Linked DNA regions of Homo sapiens: region 2 is linked to region 1. The links are contacts of gene promoters, found by promoter capture Hi-C in blood cells and fetal thymus (Javierre and others, 2016). All regions are on one chromosome and are shown on one strand. Each heading gives the region's core, a stretch centred on a gene start or on the middle of the fragment in contact. The rest is flanking DNA. Distances are from core to core; before and after follow the strand shown.

Region 1 (2,931 bases), core at 272-2,771:
AAACAAGGTCGGGATAAAAACAAAACACGGTGGCTTAATTTCTGTGTAAAACAACCGTCAAAACCTACCCTCAAAAAAATTGACACGAACAATCAAACATTCAGGTATAATTTATCTGCTGGAACAAATCTACGTTATTGACCTTGACAGGGCCTTAAATCATGAGACCATAAACAAGCATCCTAGTGATATCTATTATGTCTTCGGAAATAGCTTAAAATCCAGGACTTCATGTTATTGTCAGTAATGAGCAAGATGTTTGGAAAGCAGTGTGCTCACTGGGGCTTACTTTGAAAGCTGTCTTTTTTACTTACTACCGAACACTGATTTCCAGGAAGCAAGCCACCCCACCCCACTTCCCAGGCACTTGATTTTTTTTTTCAAACCTCTAGATTGGGTTCCGTTTCCTGAATTACTTATTCCTTACATAAATTTTCTTTTAAACTTCAGCAATTATGGCACCTTAGGCTCTGGGGGTATCAGCAGCGTGGGTTGTTTTAGAGAAAGTTCTGAAAAAAATATGTTTTGGAGACATTCCATTTCTTTGTGCATCTCACTGGGGGCTTTCAGCGAAAGCTTTAAGTTATTCAGGTGAGGGGCAATGTCTTAGTCGCTCATAAAGGGCATAAAAGTAACATCATCTGGAAAGGCATGGCACCTGCTCGGCCGGGGTAAAGGTCCGTTTTTCTAACCCTCGCCCCTCCCTCCTCCACACCGCGCCGCTAGAGACAGTGCAGTGGTCTCTCCCAAGGTCGACATCATCTCCAAGGCTGCAACCCAGGGCTGAACCAAAAAAACAGGCGCACCCACGTATAGGTCACGGCCAGAGTCCCGCCCTGCCACCAGCAGCCAGGTCTTCCTGCCTCCCTATCAAGGTGAAACTAACCCAGAGGGCCCAGCGGAGGGGCGCATACAGGCGGCGCCGATGGAGGCGGCCGATTGCATGACTGGCAGGAAGGAAGCGATCAGCCGCCAAAGTGCATTTTTTCCTCCCCTAGAGCCAGCCCGGGACCGGACGCTGCCAGCGGAAGGGCCGGCGCGCGCCAGGCCACGAGGCAGACGCACCCGCCGTGCGCACTTCCCCGTCCGGTGCGCGCTCTCACTCACGCGCGCGCGCCGCTACTCACTAGCAACCCTTGGTGTCCGCAGCCCGTGTGGGACGGCGACTGCGACGGCTGCCCCCGTGGCTGCCGTGTGGCCTTGGCATCCGTCCGGCTGCTGCAACCCGGGCCGCGGTGGCTTTTGCTGGAAGGCGTTGCAGCGGGGTGATACCGGCACCCGGCGACGAGGCGTCCGCTCGTTTGCCTCGGCCGTGCCTCCTCCCCCTTCTCCTCTGCCGACAGATGGAGCTTTGCTGGTTCCAGTCGCGCGGGCTCCGTGCGTCGTTCTCCTCCTCGCTGTCGGACACCCCAGCGCAGGGGACGAACAGCGTCCTCGCAAGCCCACGCGCAGGCCGGCCGACCCCGAACCTGCAGCAACCGTCCCTGCTGCCGCTGCTGCAGGAAAATAAATTGTCACTGCGATGGTCCCGGCCTCCCCTGCCCCGGCCCCTGGGTGCCGCCTCCGCCTCTGCCTCCGCCCCCTCCTCTGTGGCGGCGGCGGCGGCTTCCCGCATTCTGCAGAAAAAGCTCGCAGGTGGAAGGAAGCAGGGCCCCTGCGGATGGCCTAGAGCCCGAGTGAAGCGGTTGGGTGCGACTTTCGCATCTGAAACCCTGCACGTCTTCTCCCCAGACCGGAACCACCTAAACTCCCTTTTGCTCCACCATCAATTTCACCGAGATGGACAGGAGTGGTGCCTTTTAAGACTGCACAGTACACAAGCCTTGATGCAGCTGACCGTTAAACTGTCACTGGAGTCTGGGGAAGGATAGGGTTTTGGTGAAAATCCCACTTATACTTCATGTTAGGATTCCCTTTTTGATATTTATCCACAACTGGCTACGCCCACTATTAAGCATCTTAGCCCTTCCCCCTACCCCCAATTTGTGTGTACTTGGAAAATAAGAAGTATTAGAATATCTCCTGGATGTTATGTTACTATCACGTGTGGTGTTCTTACTACAGTTCTGGCACTGTGTCAGGCAGTCGGTACACAAAATCTTAGTCCATCTGCCACAACCCTGTATATAAAAGGGACTCATTTTTTGTTTTTGTTTTTGTTTTTTCCATGAACGAGAGACAGAGAAGTAAAATAATTTATCCCAGGTTACTCACCTAGAAAGCAGTAGAAGCTGAAATTTAAACTCTGATCCAACACTGAAAGCTGTTTCTATTGGCTTCACAGGTTCTATTAACTGATAAACATTTTATGGAGACTGCTGCTGCTGGATGAAATAGAGTCGCTTTTCTTGAGCTTGGTTGGGAGCTTACTTCCAAGTGAGAGAAATGGCTGCAGAGTGGGGTGGGGAAACACTGGCTTTTCTTAGTTAGCCTTTCCTCTGGAAACCAAAATTCTAGCCCTGGCTCAGCCACCAACTGAGTTATTTGGTCTCAAGCATTTCACCTTCTTAAGCCTCATCTCCCTGGATTCTTTTTTTTTTTTTAAATGAAGAGTTTGATTGTTGGAGGCAGCCTGCAGCCTTGATTTTTAAGAAGCAACAGTGTTGTTTTGCTTAGTTTTAAGTTGGTTCCAAATGTTGAAGTTAGGAAATTTCACAGAAATTCAGACTTTTCACATTTTCTGTAAAATCGTAACATCAGACATTTGGTCCATGGCGAGTTCTAGCAACCATCAGCTGAAGCTGAATAGCAGGTGTCGCCTTTAGACTGTGAAGACACTCTTCAGTTTTCCACAGTCCCCACCACTCCCATACACCCCCACCTCACTGACATTTGAGAATATGGTAGGCATTTGAGTTTGCAGTATTGAACCAGATAATCTCATGACCTACTGGACAATTTAAAATTCAGTGGTAATTAAGAAGGTTAGCC
Region 2 (2,931 bases), core at 211-2,710, 1.0 Mb after region 1:
GAACCCTTTTGGTTCTGTGCTTGAGGGTATCTCCTGCTGCAGCCCAGAGCGTGCATTCTCCGATGTTGCAACAAACGTCCAGTCACTACCCCTGAGCTGGTGAGCGCGCCCCACCTACTGTGGACTCAGCCAAGTGACTTATCTGGTCTGAGAACCTAGTCAATGGCCGTCAGCCCAGAACAAACCTGTCAAGTCTGTTTACAGCCCCGATTGGGCTGACCTGTCACCGTGAGAGAGCTGATTCGGAAATGCTGAGAGTTGGATCGCACTCCTACCCCGCACCCCACCCGTCAAGGATCTACAAAGCAAGTAGTCGACCCGCTTAAAGAGAATGAGCATCAACACCAGTCTGGGAATTTATTGTTTTTTCATTTCCCTTAGGAAGTAGAACTACAGACGACAATTTGAGTCAAAAAATATCTAACGAGACCTAGGTTGAAGCACTGAGTTGTTTTTCAAACTTTGAGAGAATGAGAATCAATCTGCATGTGTGTTCAATAATTGTAAGTGCCTAGCAAAGTCTAAAGAGGGTTTATGCTGTATTTGAGAAAGAGTACTGTATATGTGCACATCATAGTTGCAGGCAACCTCTGAAGACTAGAAACCTCAAGAGACCTAGCGCAGAAAGCCACAGGCCATTACCTAACTCCGGGACTACTAATTAAACCTGGGATATTTACAGTGTTCTTAGAGACCTCTGAGGCTCCATAAAACTTTGCACTTATATACAGCATTTAAGATAGCTGTGCAGGAGTTAACAACCTGCTGAAGCTTCAGTGTTGATATTTATTGAAGACTGGTTTTGTGCATAGTTCTGGTCAGCTTGGGAAAGGCAAGGACCACAGTGGAAAAGGAAATGGAAAGCAACCGGAAAAGAGTAAGAGAAAGGCCTCCAGTTGATTTCCAGAGATGCAGATACTGTCCACACAGCCTAGCGTGAACTACAGATTTCATTATTGTATAAATAACCAAAGATAAGGAGTTCCTGATGTCTAGGTGTTCTACTAGATTGCATGGTAAAAACCAGAGCTGTGTTTAATTATCAATTACTGCGTGGTAGAAAAAGGGAAAATGAAGATGAACTTTTAAAAGGGGAGTAGATTAGGGAGGGGTAAAATGTCTCACATTTGTTTCTTAGATTGCTGATCTTGTCTCCAGAGTCCCTGTTATTAGCACTGCCCTTCTCTGTCCCTCCCCTGGAGCCTACCCTAAGTGACAATTAGTCTCATAGCATCTGAGAATCTCTGAAATCTGCTTTCATGGAAGCAAATGAAACAAGGGTGCATTCCTGTCCTGGTGCGACAGAATCCTCTTGGATTCCATGGCACAGAGTTACTCTGGAGCAGAGATAATCTGCATCACCAGCACTAAAGTGCTAGAATATGAGACCAGCCTCCAAGTACTTCCATCCGGCTGAAGAAAGAAAATGGGAAATGGGTTTTACTGCTTCTCTAAACATCAGGTCCCTCTACTTCTCTCTAGTGGTGAATGAAAGGATCATCAATGTTGGCAGATATTTGGCCAGCCCAACAGCAACATCAGGTGGTTATTAGGAGTTGGTGAATAAAATCCTCCTTCTGTTCCTAGTGTTAAGTTGTTTCTGAAAGAAATACTGATGCATCCTTTTCCAATTTTTTGTTTTTCTTTTCCTTTCTACCCAAATGGCTGGCCCTATCTAAACTAAAGAAAGTTTCAAAAATAGTACTTTTTTAAAGTTCAGTTGAAAATACCTGCTTGGCTGTATAGATATTACAATACACTGGTCTCCAAGCACTTCAGTTCTTTTTTTTTTTTTCTTTTTTTTTTTTTTTTTTTGAGACGGAGTCTCACAGGCTGGAGTGCAGTGGCATGATCTCGGTTCACTGCAACCTCTGCCTCCCAGGTTCAAGCAATTCCCCTGCCTCAGCCTCCCGAGTAGCTGGGACTACAGGCGCACACCATCATGCCGGGCTAATTTTTTGTAGTTTAGTAAAGACAGGGTTTCACCATGTTGGTCAGGATGGTCTCGATCTCCTGACCTCGTGATCTGCCCGCCACGGCCTCCCAAAGTGCTGGGATTACAGGCGTGAGCCACCGCGCCCGGCCATACTTAGTTCTTTACCTGTCTGGATTCAGAACCAGAATACCATAGGGAGAAGTAGAAGCTTGTAACAAAGGGACAATTATATAAAGCTTCAGGGTGACTATGTAGATTGATTAGTAAGCATGGTAAACTAGCTTTAATTATCGCTTCTAACAGCTGATTCCAAAACTCTATTGTTACTACACCAAAATAATGTCGAAAGAAAATTTCTTTCTTATTTTCTTTGATAAGCGAAATGACCAGCAACTTGATGTGGATGATATAAATACTTGATGTGCTCTTTGTAGGTCATCTGCTAAGATGTCTTTTGTGTAAACACTCTGATCTCTATAGTGCCTTTCTCATCTCCCATACGCTGACCTTTCAAAAAGGGATCTAACTCAATAGCTTTAATTTTTAAACAATCTTCTGTATTTCTGTCTGTTTAACTACTGTTTTCTAAATAATACAGAATATAAAAACATAATAATCATTGGATTGAATGTAAACCCATTGTTCCAAGGGTCTGAGGTTTTCCCCTTATTTCATTTATCCTAATAACAAACATTATTGTTCTTTCAATAAAGATAATTTTAAGACATTCTCCAAAAGGCGCTACTGTGGGTCATACAAGTAACTATATTCTAAAAGAGAATTTTCCATTATTGTCTACAAGCTTCCCATGTCCCAAATCTCTCCTGAAGCTATTTCAGATGCCATGGTGTCATCTTTCACATCTTGGTAGAGAGATGTGCTGTATGAAATCATCATTCTCAGAGAAATAAGGGTTGAGTTGGTTGCTCCTGAGAACAATAGAGCAGACCAGGTACTCACTGTGTCCAAGTGGCGTTCAGAAATTTTGTCTTGGA

What was found. Contacts are between HindIII fragments. The CHiCAGO score rates a contact against its expected background, and 5 or more counts as called.
Region 2: a contact is called between a fragment that was not itself captured here and the fragment with the promoter of STAMBPL1 in region 1, in 1 of 17 cell types (fetal thymus). The highest score is 6.1, in fetal thymus.

What each region holds. Positions count from the first base shown.
Region 1 is chr10:88,878,835-88,881,765 of GRCh38, reverse strand. It overlaps STAMBPL1 (STAM binding protein like 1), which reads right to left and starts at 1,521. Exons shown (of 11, transcript NM_020799.4): 1 at 1,128-1,521. It overlaps LOC124902551, which reads left to right and starts at 1,102. Exons shown (of 1, transcript XM_047426134.1): 1 at 1,102-2,032. The coding sequence starts at 1,344. The coding sequence ends at 1,871. RefSeq lists an enhancer at 813-922 and a silencer at 1,503-1,632. The HindIII fragment of the contact is 2,730 bases long and covers 579-2,931 here.
Region 2 is chr10:87,858,900-87,861,830 of GRCh38, reverse strand. KLLN (killin, p53 regulated DNA replication inhibitor) reads left to right here. Exons shown (of 1, transcript NM_001126049.2): 1 at 1-2,673. Among named protein-coding and RNA genes, the nearest start is that of KLLN, 3.2 kb to the left of the region's middle. The HindIII fragment of the contact is 1,373 bases long and covers 774-2,146 here.